Regions from separate parts of the Homo sapiens genome. Here region 1 is linked to region 2. The links are contacts of gene promoters, found by promoter capture Hi-C in blood cells and fetal thymus (Javierre and others, 2016). All regions are on one chromosome and are shown on one strand. Each heading gives the region's core, a stretch centred on a gene start or on the middle of the fragment in contact. The rest is flanking DNA. Distances are from core to core; before and after follow the strand shown. Region 1 holds the start of MIR4720 (microRNA 4720). Region 2 holds the start of CMIP (c-Maf inducing protein).

The links. Contacts are between HindIII fragments. The CHiCAGO score rates a contact against its expected background, and 5 or more counts as called.
Region 1: a contact is called between a fragment that was not itself captured here and the fragment with the promoter of CMIP in region 2, in 1 of 17 cell types (total B cells). The highest score is 5.1, in total B cells.

Annotation. Positions count from the first base shown.
Region 1 is chr16:81,382,462-81,388,546 of GRCh38, reverse strand. GAN (gigaxonin) reads right to left here. Exons shown (of 11, transcript NM_022041.4): 11 at 1-6,085. It overlaps MIR4720 (microRNA 4720), which reads right to left and starts at 3,529; the gene lies at 3,454-3,529. RefSeq lists a silencer at 1,479-1,673. The HindIII fragment of the contact is 949 bases long and covers 3,369-4,317 here.
Region 2 is chr16:81,442,900-81,448,682 of GRCh38, reverse strand. CMIP (c-Maf inducing protein) reads right to left here and starts at 3,875. Exons shown (of 21, transcript NM_198390.3): 1 at 3,142-3,875. The coding sequence starts at 3,441. RefSeq lists enhancers at 1-41, 808-1,571, 1,572-2,337, 4,502-5,034 and silencers at 2,883-3,182, 3,613-3,662, 3,733-4,082, 4,193-4,292. The HindIII fragment of the contact is 9,361 bases long and covers 1-5,783 here.

The sequences.
Region 1 (6,085 bases), core at 2,594-5,093, 60 kb after region 2:
GGCCTCTGGGGCTGGCCTGGAAGGTGTCATTCTAGCCTACAGGTGCCTAAGGCGCTGGGATGTGTCCTTGGCGGTGCCTCAGAAGGCACCTGGGTCCAAGTTCTGACCTGGAGCCTTGGGGACAGATCTGACTCTCACAGCCAGGGCCAGCTGGTTGTGGAAAGTGCTAGTATGCAGGTCTGCTCAGGGATCTGTGAGGCTCATGCTCTGGCCATTATGTGGTCTGAAGAACCAGAAGGGCTATTCTCCTCGCCCCCAACAACCCGCCCCAACTGCACCTTTCTTTTCCTTTTTATTTTGGATACATAATTCAAGCAGTAAAAAAACCAGGCTGGAAGAGGGTTGGGACAGAGGAGCAGAGGGCAGGGTGGGAAAGCTATCCCAAGAAGAGTGAGTAAAAACAACGACTCCGAACATGGCCAAAATACCCTTCCTCCACCTTGACGGCAATCCCTAAGCTGGCAGAGAAAGATGCGCCGACTGCGAAGTGCCTGTTTTCTCAGAGATTCCACCTAGCAGTGTCCATGGGGAGCCACAGTGGAACATGGAGAGAACAATCAAGGCTGGTTCAAACGAAAGGTTATTCACCAGTGAAAGAAACGGGGAGAAGACACAGCCGGCTAGCTCTGAAGACATGGTGTGCATCCCAGCCTATAAATCTCTAATGATCTTGATCCCGTGTTTCCCCTATTTCTGAGCAGACCTTTTTTTTTAATTTTTTATTTTTTTGTGAGACAGAGTCCCCCTCTGTCGCCCAGGCTGGAGTACAGTGGCACAATCCTGGCTCACTTCAACCTCTGCCTCCTGGGGTCAAGTGATTCTCCTCCCTCAACCTCCCGAGTAGCTGGGATTACAGGGGCCCACCAACACACTCGGCTAATTTTTGTATTTTTAGTAGAGACGGGGTTTCACCATGTTGGCCAGGCTAGTCTTGAACTCCTGACCTCAAGTGATCCACCTGCCTTTGCCTCCCAAAGTGCTGGGATTACAGGCGTGAGCCACTGCACCCGGCCTGAGCAGATCAAAAACAAGGCAAGAGGGGTCAGGACACACAGGCAGAGGCTCGTTCCCTCTCCTTCCAGAGCTGAGAATAAAACTGCAGTAGACTTTCACCAGGGAGGAGGACAAGACAAAACCATGACAACAATCAGGTCCCTTGGTGACGACGTGCCCCATCAGCAAGGCTACCCACCTACGGAGTGGGAAGGTTGCCGTGCCAACCTCCCCTAGGGCAGGAGAAACAACTGGCATATGTTCAAATGATCAATATCCCACCCCCCGCAACAAAACTTTTTTCTGAAATTTCATATAGCAACGTGCTTTCTTGAACCGAGACGTAAGACTTTACATTTAGCCATTACACTATGAAGAGTATTGCAGATCTAACACCCAACACATCTTGCCCAGCACTCTTCTTTGCCTTCTATATTTTTATTCAAGTTATGGATACAAATGTCAAACAGGATGCTGCTAGAGTAGCTCACCTTAAGTGATCTTGCCAAAGATCCGTTCTTGCCAACACTGTCTGAACCTGGCTATTCAGCCGACTTCTCGGTCCTTTGTTAAATCCTACTTCTACTTCCCTTTCTTTCTTTTCTTTTGAGATGGAGTTTAGCCCTTGTTGCCCGGCTGGAGTGCAACGGCACCATCTCGGCTCACCGCAACCTCCGCCTCCTGGGTTCAAGAGATTCTCCTGCCTCAGCCTCCCGAGTAGCTGGGATTACAGACATGTGCCACCATGCCCGGCTAATTTTGTATTTTTAATAGAGACGGGGTTTCTCCACGTTGGTCAGGCTGGTCTCAAACTGCCGACCTCAGGTGATCTGCCCGCCTTGGCCTCCCAAAGTCCTGGGATTACAGGCGTGAGCCACCGCGCCCGGCTGTTCTACTTCCTTTTCACATTCAGAGATCAAGAATGACTTTATCAAATGTCTTATTGAAATCAAGACAAGCTGAGCACATTATATACTCCTACCTCTGCCAGTCTCATAACCTAACCAGGAAAAGAAGTGTATGATACCATAGAAGGATTAAGTAGTTCACTGTTTGTACCACTTTGTTAAATAACCTTCTTTATGCAAAGGTACAAAAGTTCCACACACACAGACACATGCACAAACACACATGCACGTACACACAAGTACTTGTAACACATATTTGTTTGTTTTTAAGTTTCATGTAACATCCAAGTTAAGAAAGCACAGTTAGGTCTACTGGTCTAAAACAGAGATCTAGGAATTATCTCGTTTCTTTGACCAATACAGATTACTACCTTTGCTATTTCAATGAAAAAAAAGGAAAATTCAACTTTAGTAAAGAGTTTTAAGTATTATTAGAGAATTTCACTGGGCAAATTCTAAACAGAGGGTTATTTATAACAAACTCTAAGTATTCTAAACACATATTTTGGGCTGTTTCAGCTATCTAGAATTGTGTTGAATTTAAATACTAGAGATGTAGATGGAGAGAGGTGATATGGGTCTAGAAAGCAAATCATTTTCTGGCTGGATGCTCACACCTGTAATCCCAGCACTTTGGGAGGTTGAGGCAGGCGGATTGCCTGAGCTCAGGAGCTCGAGACCAGCCTGGGCAATATGGTGAAACCACACCTGTTCTAAAAATACAAAAAATTAGCTGGGCATACTGGTGTGCACTTGTAGTCCCAGCTACTTGGCAGGCCGAGGCAGGAGGATCCCTTGAGCCTGGGAGATGGCGCCACTGCACTCCAGCCTGGGTGACGGAGCGAGACTCCATCTCAAAAAAAAAAAAAAAAAAAAGTATTTTATGAACACCAACTTCTAATACATTTACTTGTATATCATGTGGCAGCAGACGTGAGAATGTGGAAAGCTATAAGGCCTGGGACACTCAGTGCAGGCAGCCTTGGCCTCATCCACAGGGCCTCCCACCACCCCATGTTGAGAGGTGACATAATCATGGTGGCAGCAACAGTGGTCACTGCACACAAGGCACTCTCCCAGCTGCTTACAGTCATCACCCAGTTAATCCTCACAACAACCCGCAGAGGTGAGTCCTCCTGCTATTCTTCTTCCACATAAGAAACGGAGCCTTGGGAGCCTTAAGAGCTTCCCAAGTCACAGAGTAGTAAGTGTGGCAGAAGCCCCCAAGCCCAGATGCACCTGCCACCAAGGCCTATGCTCTCAACCACTGGGTTTGTAAGGAAAGTATATAAAGATGATTGCCTGAAAATAATTAAAATAACAAAGTTTGGGGTTTAAGTTAAAGGAATAAGCCTTTGTTCTCATGGAAATCACTTCCAGGAAATGTCTCATGTCCTGAGCTAAGTCAGTCTCATGTCCTGAGCTAAGTCAACAGGGTGCTAACAGATTGTCATTGGAGGAGAAGCTTTGTCATTCTACTATTGAAAGCAAGCCCTTTACTCTGAAAAGCACAAGCATAAAAATTAAATCTTATTAATACACAACGACAGTTAAACTTGGCTATACTTGGTACAACTTAAGCACCAGATTTTACCTGGTGCTTAAGTTATACCAAATATGCCAGGCTTTTAGAAATGGGCATAACTCTTTTGGCCACGGCATCACTGAACTCCTCCATTTAAGTAGAATGTGTACAACTGTGCCCTGAAACTGGGCCATTATTACAAGATCTCCCGAGAGGAAGAGTCTTGCCTACAACTGGTGAGCCTCCTCATCTTCTTCCTCCTGACTTGGTGACCAGGCAAGCTGACAGACACTAGGGAGGATGGAGGCGACCACGTGTGGAGTGCAGAAGGCGCATACCGGAGGAAGGTGAGGGATGTTCCACAGATACATGGAACAAATCACATCATTCATGATTTTCAGTATCATCCAACTCTATATAGTTCTGCCAACCTCAACTCTGCACTGAGGAAACACTTTAAGTGAGGAGGATCTTAGCAATGAGTAGATTTTCATCAAAATTAAAGATTTCTGGGAAACAATAGCACCTTATAAGAAATGAAAAAAATAGTATCCTCAAGCACCCAAATCCCAAATACTGGGTCAGATGACAGATAGACACATTTTCTTGTCTGATGCTAACAAGAATGGAAATCGAGCCCCCTGTTTTACACAGCAGTGGCGTTTAAATAGACTACTTTTCTGCATTATGAAAACAGCCTTTTAAAGACTCTTTAAAGTTCAAGTTGAGTTTCAAGTAATCAGTTTGCAGCAACTCTAGGAGAATTATTATTCCTCCTGGTTGTAAGTGCTTTTTTTTCTTTTCTTTTTTTTTTTTTTTTAAGTAGTAAAATGGAAAACAGGCCTTAGAGAATTGTATTCCTCAAGGCCTCTGACTGCCTGCTTCCAAGCTTTTGTTAAAGAACAGAATGTGTTGAATTCTTCTCAATTGGCAGGGGATCAAGCACAATACTACATAATGAGGTAGCTGAGAACAGAGTTTTTCCTATAAACACAAAGAACAACTGAATAAGTGCATGTAATTCTCATCCAATTAAACAGGAAACATGATAAAGCAAGTTAGTACAGTTGTATTTAAACCAAGTTGACTGGTATAACTTGAAAAAATTTAACCCAAGTTTCTAAGGTATGCCTTATTCATAACTGATGAGTAAAAACAATAAAAATAAGGTACCCAAACCTATTACTTGTAATGAAATGCTAAAAATAAGATCCTAATAAATATAATTCACCAACCAGAAGACAGATGAACCTCCGTTTGGGATGTGAATGATTTGAAATGGCCGTTCATTTACGTGGATCCTATTCAGTGTCTACTCGTTCACTTCATCTTAAGGCCGTGTGTCCCCCGGACTCTGTGTGTTGCCATCCTTTTCCACCTGTTCCTTCTCTAATTCATATCACGACTGTACAATTTCTGGTTTTCTTTCAATGTGTGCACAGAAGGAAGCTCAACAACTTTGTTGAGCCAGGAAGAAATTATTATCAACATTTATAATCAGGCCAAATTTCAGCTGAGTAGTGACTTTAAAAGAATTAGTTTTAATCTCAAAATAAAAAAAAAAAAAGAGGGCAGGCGAGGTGGCTCACACCTGTAATCCAGCACTTTGGGAGGCTGAGGCGGGCGGATCACGAAGTTTAGGAGATCGAGACCATGCTGGCTAACATGGTGAAACCCCGTCTCTACTAAAAACACAAAAAATTCGCCGAGTGTGGTAATAAGCACCTGTAATCCCAGGTACTGGGGAGGCTGAGGCAGGATGATTGCTTGAACCCAGGAGGCGGAGATTGCAGTGAGCCGAGATCGCACCACTGCACTCCAGCCTAGGCGACAGAGCGAGACTCCGTCTCAAAAAAAAAAAAAAAAAAAAAAAAAAAAGAGAGGGCAACAGTCATTTCTGACTAAATAATTATATAATGTAGTTTTATTTATTTGATGTTTAATTTCATGAAAAGGGGAAGGGGTTTAAAAATCCAATCACTTAGAGAATTTCAATGACAGAACTGAAAAAGAACAAACTTTCTACGGAGCGTGGTGGCTCATGCCTGTAGTCCCAGCTGGGTCTCCACATCTGAGGCCAGGAGTTTAAGATCAGCCTGGGCAACAGAGCAAAACCCAGTTTCTAAAAGAAATTTAAAAAAATAAAATAAAATAAAAAAGAATAAACTTTCCTAAACTGTATACATTAGACCAAACCATCTGGAAGTATGATTTAATTCCTCAGATGTCACATAAATGGAACTATTACAATGAGACAATATTGAAATATGTTTAAAATGGAAATAATAATAGGGTTCCTTCTGAAAAACACAAAACTTTACCAAGTTTTACCAGCTAACTTGCAAAAAATATAGAAAATGCCTAGCAGTCAATACCACTGAGACTTAACTGCCAGCAGGCATGACAGACACTCAATCCAAGTCTGTGTTATCAAATATGGGCAAATGGGCCCCTTCTCATCCTTATACTATGAATTTCTGTAATTTCTCAAAACTACAGACAGAGTAAAGAGTATTTCAAGAATTATTAAAAGCTATCAAAATACTTTCCTCAACATTCTAAGACATAGTTTATTTTCCCTTACTAATTACATGGAATAAGAGAGGGAAGTATACATGAAGCTCTTTGAAATAAAAAAACAGTTTCTCTTTCAAAGAAA
Region 2 (5,783 bases), core at 2,626-5,125:
GGCGGCCGTCACAAGCCACATTAGGCACGCTGTTGGCTCTGCAAGGATTTAATCAGTAACTGGCCCAGGAGACCAGGGCAGGGCAAGCTGCGACCTGATCCCACAGGAGGCAAAGTTTACAGGCAGGCCAGGCGGGTGAGGCTGCTGGCTCCACCGGTAAGACAGCCTGGAGGGCTATCAGGTCCCTTGGACCCCAGACTAAAAGGTGTACCTAGCCGGTGTCACCCAGCAGGTGGGACTGGGAGCCCGAGTCTGCCTGCATCCCAGCCTGATGCAGATGTGCTCCTGGAAGCACGGTCTTAAATCTCTCAGATTCGGTTAATTGGATCAATGGAAACAGACTGCAAAAGGTTTGGGCAAAAAAGAGTATTTGGCTTGTTTATTGGTTTGAATCCCTATCAATCACTCTGGGTCTTGTTCCTGAAGCCCATACAATTAACCAGATAATTACCAGATGATTCTGAGTTGGGCTGTGTAGATGGCTTAAAATATGGATGACTGATATTTCAAGTAAGGATATGACTCTATAGGAAACATACTTGGAATATCGGGAGCTCAGGGCTGGGCCAGCGGCTGCTGCGAAGCCACAGGACTGCAAAGGGTTTTTGTTCTAGGGAACTGCACTCAAATTCACCTTTGTTTTATTTGGGCTCATATTTCTCAATAGAGTGCTTGGGCCGCACTATAAAACGCAGACAGATTACATAATGTCCAGGCCTCAGGGAAACCCCACAGGGGCTCCGCTGCTTCCCCGAGAGCCTGGACACCAACCAGGTGTCTCATGATGGGACGAGAGCCCTGGTGGCAGTCCCAACCTCACCTCTACCCGGGAGGCCAGCGCTCCAGCCAGGCCAGCCCTCACAGCCCCACCTCCAGGCTCACAGGCCCTGAGGCAAGGCCCCCTGGAGCCCACCAGAGGGCAAGGGTAAGACTTAAGGACACCCCCTGCCTGTAGTGCTTGGTGACGAAAGGCAGCGGAAAGGGGATTATGCCAGTCCATCAAACACTTCCTTATAGTTCCTCTTGCCACATTTCCTAACACCAGAGCATGGCTCTGCCAAGAGAATCTTGCTCCATGGATAAGCCTCAGTCCCCAGTACTAGACAGGTGCTTTCCGGAAAGGCCCACACTACCGATGGTGCCACCTACCTGGGCTGGCCAAGGTGAGCGAGGGGCCTCTGGCTATTCAGGTCTTTCTTCCTTCCCTCTTTCTCTCAGATATACCTCCTGAGCAATCGGAGGTAAGTGGGGAGGCATTAGCCTCGAGAGCTGGCTTTCCGGAAACAGGACGGTAGCAGCGGGACACTCACTCCTGGCTTCTCCCAGAGGGAGAAGGGGCTCCTCCTGGCCTTCCCATGGCAGGTCACTGTTCCTTCTAACCATTTTCCTACCCCACCACCAACAACCCTTCATTTTGTGGAGTGTAAGAGGAAAAAAAAAAAAAAAGCCCAATAAAGTCCCCCTGAGCCAGGTGAAAATTCTGAAGCCAGATCTGGGGTCTCCAGAATCCAGGCAGGGGGCACCGCGGTCACCAGTTCCTCCCCACATCAGAAACACTCCGTACTGGCAAATTTTCGGAGGCTCTCTCCCGCCTCCATCCATTGGAAAGCCAAATGCTGCGGCCTGTGGCGCGGGACGGGCTTGAGAACATGCACCAGCCTGACCGGGGACTGGGCCGCCTCCCCGCGACCAGCAATCCTCCCTGAAAAAGGAGTCTTTGCAGATATTGCACCAACGTGCCCACAGGAAAGAGAAAATAGGTGCTCTAAGCATGTCGGACCCCAAATTAAGAATAAAAGTCCTCGAGGGCTGCAACGCTCTGGGGTGGGGGGTGGGGGACTGGTTCAAAGAGTAGGATTCTTCAGCTAACTTTTCCCCCCTCCCCATTCCTTGGGGCATGTGTCATGGCCTGTGACACACCGCCAAGGGAACATGGATGCCAGGGAAATGTCTACACACGCTACACGTTTGTGACATGCCATGTAAGCGACACCCTATTTCCTGGCTGGGTTTTCTTGGCACAGGTGTGGGCAGGCAGTGGATTCGGCCCCCTCCCACTGCGCTTAGTAAACAGGATCACGGTGGCCCCAGGGAGGAGTGTGCATTCTGGGGAAGACAAGCTACACCCCCAATGAGGATGGGACCCCCACGGCAAGCCTCAGGCCCAAGCCACAGCCGGTATTTGAAACTGTCCTTGTTTCAAAACACAAAGCATCCTGTTCAGGCTCCTACCCGCCACCCCCACTCTCCCCTCGACCCCACCACAGCTGTCTTTCTCCACGTACGAAGAAGGCCACCATTTGCAGATCTGATTTCAGAAACAGATCAATGGTTTTTCCTCTCCGACTCATCCAGCTGACCCAGTCCTACCCATGTATTTAAAAACAATAACAAAATTAAACCTCCAGCAACAAAACACACACGTATACACACACTCTACAGACAATGCCGGACCAGGGCTCCACCAAGCAGCTTCTAGGCTAGAACTCGACCACCGCTGGGTCCTGAGATATTCCAGGACCACTGCCCCCTCCCCCTCCACTTCCAACCTCTCAATGTGCGAATGAGATTTTCAGAAAGGGAAGCACCCCGTTCTGCCTGCCAGCCCTGGCAGGAAAGAGAATAAAGGACGGGTAAACCAAACAGAGAAACTGGCTTCTGGAAATTCTTTGGGTTTGGGGGTTTGGAGGTTTTGTTGTGTTGTTTGTTTTTTTTTTTAAATCTGAGGGGTGGTATTTTGTTTTCCCCTCCCCCACCCCTCAGATCCAGATGGGCCAGGGGCTTCCAGAGAGAACCCCCACCACCATCAGGGCCCAGCGTCGGGTCCATCCTCGAGTCCCAGCCACCAGAAACACAAGAGCTGGGGGCAGAAGGTCCCCAGGCACCCAGCCTGGCGGTGGGCCGAGTCTCCAGCATTTTAAGGGTCTCTCCTGAGCCCGGTCGGCTGGTTTGGGCTTCAGACTCCAAAATCGAGCCCCGCGAGCAGGCCAGGAGCGAGGCGCCCTGGTTCTCCCCGTTCCCCCGGCACCCCCCACCGCCCCCCAGGCCCTGGGCTCCAGGTGCAGCGCCAGGGGGCAGCCAGGGAGGGCGCATCTCGGGCCCCGAGGAGAGGCGGGGGTGCAGCCGCGCAGAGCCACTCACCGTGGCGGACGCCAGGCTGTTGTCGGCCAGCGTTAGGTGGTGCGGCTCCCAGCGCCTCAGGAATTTCGAGGTGAGGATCTTGCTGAGAAAGGTCCGCGGGTGCCGGATGACACAGACCTGAATGTCGCCCTCCTGCAGCAGTTTGTACCTCATCCCGTTGCAAAGCAGAAGAGCCCGGCGGCAGGGCACGGCGCCCATCTTCGTGCCTTCGGGGGCCGACACGTCGCCCCCCAGCAGCGGCTTGGTCTCCTCGATCTGCCGGGGGTCGCCGCCGCCGCCCGAGCTGCTGGTCACATCCATGGCCGCGCCGGGGGAGGGGGCTGGGGGCGGGGAGAGGGGGCTGTCCTGGGCTGCTGGGGCGGCGGGGCCCCCGGATCCGGCGGCCCGCACCCCCCCACCCCCCGGGAAGGTGGGGGGGTGTGGGGCTGGGGGCGCCCGCAGGGGAGGGGGCGCTGCCCGCGGGGGGCGGCGCGTGCGGCGGGCTGGGCCGGCCTCGGCGCTTCCTGCGGGGCTCCGGGCTTCCTCCTAGCTCGTCGGGTGCATGCTCGCGGCGGCTGACCGGGCTCGGCGGGCGACGGGGAGGGGCGGGGGAGGCCGAGGGCGGGCCGGGGCCAGGCGCGGAGGGCGGGCGCCGGGGTGGGGGCGGCGGGGTGGGGGCGGGCGTGTCTCGGGGCCCCGCGCCGCCGCGCGCGTGTGTACAGAGCGTGTGTCCGCGCGGCCGTCCGGGCGAGAGTGGCCGCGGGCGGGGCGGGCCGCGCGCCGGGCTCCCGGAGCCCGGGGCGCCCGCGCGATTGGTCCCCGCAGGGTCATGTGCCCGCCCCTCTGACGTCAATGGCGGCAACGGCGGCGGCCGCGGCGGCTTCGGCCTCTCGCGGGCGGAGTCCGCGGTCCGGGCGGGGTCGCGGCCCACGACGGGGAGGCGCGGCCCGACGGGAGGGGCAGCCCCTGGGGAGGGGGCTGGGGCGGGCGAGCCCCGCGGGGTCCCGGCCCGCCCCGCCTGGAATGTGGGGAGGGGGCGGGGCGCGGGGGCGGGGCGCGTGACGTCACGCCAGCCGCGCCCCCGCGGGTGCCCGGGCGGGAGCCCAGCCAGGCTGCCGGAGCCTGGGGGCCCGCGCCTCACCCACCCCCGCCGCCCCCGGGCCGGACTCGGACGGGTAAAGAAGGATACCCGAGGGCCGGGGGCTGGGTGGAAGGACGGGGACTGGAACCCTCGACCCCTGACGCCCCCTCCGCTGTCCAGGCTGTCCAGCGGGCTGGCCAGATGGGGCCGTGGGACGGGGACGCCTTCCCGACTGAAAGTGTCCCCGCGGTGATCCGGAGGATGAGCCCACCCTGCCCTGTCTCCCACTGCGGGACCCAGCCGGCCTCGAACTCCTGGCCTTTGACGTCTGCTGGCTTTGGCCTTGGGGGTCCTCAAACCTTCTGGAGAGAGGGGACGGTCCGCCCATCCCCCTTCTTTCTTCTGCCCAGGGAGACAGAGCCTCTTCTAGGAACCCACTTAAAGCACCCCCCAACCTACACAGCCACCCCTCTTGTGCGCACCCCAGCAGCTCCCCCTACTTCACCTTCCCTGGGACCCCACCTGGTCATTTTATCTGAGTTCACAGGCCCAGCACCAGCCCACGAGAGAACCATATTCGATTCTCTTGTGACCCAGGGTATCAGGAACTGCAGCCTGGATGCAAAAAGCTCCCTTTCTGCCATCACAAGCAGCCGGCACCTAAGGCCACCTAGCAAATGCTCAGCTCCTCAGCCAGGTTTTCTTATCTCCACGTGCTCCTGCAGCTAATAACGTTAAAACCCTAGATTTTTGCCTTTTTAAGTGAAGGCGCCTCTGTAGTGAACACATGAATGTGTGCAGCGTGTGTTGAACTGCGTCGTGAACACTGCGGAATATCCACAGCATCTGTGCCGTTGGTGGAAATTATTCACCCCCCCTCTCCCAAGAACAGGCAGCATGAAGGTGCTCCCCAGAGGACCCTCTCCCCGAGCCTGGCCAGGGTTTCAGGCAGGGGATGAAAGGCAGGTCCCAGGCTGCATCCCTCACCAAGGAAAGAAGACTCACATCCAGCCTGCCCAGGAGATGCCTCCTTGGGGAGGCACAATTAGATTAGAAAGTTAGAAATTCCTTAGCTCCCCACAATTTGCTGCCATTTCCTTCCAGTTTTGAGCTTGAACAGCCTTGAGAAAACCACCAAGCATGAAGGGGCAAGCCCTAGATATGTGGGTGTTGGGGGGTGGTTGGGGCCAAGAAACCCCCCAGTCCATTAAGCGGGTGGGATTAGATCCTTTGTTCAAATATTTTCATTGAGCTCCTGCTGTATGCTGGTCACAGGCCAGGCACTAGGGTATTAATGGTAATGACTATAATAACCACAGTGGCCAGAGGCTTCCTATGTGCTAAGAATTTTGTACGCACACATCATTCTCTTCTCACACCCTATGACATAGGTGCTGTCCTCATCCTCAACCACAAAGCATGGAGGTCAGAGTCCAGAACAGTAACAGACATTGTGCTTGGTGCTCCAGGAACAGAAAGGGGGATGTCTAACCCAGTGTGGGGGACCAGGGTACTCTAAGAGTTCTTTAGGAATCAAGTAAAGAAGGGGATAGGTGCTCCAAGAAGACGAACTGGCTCCTAC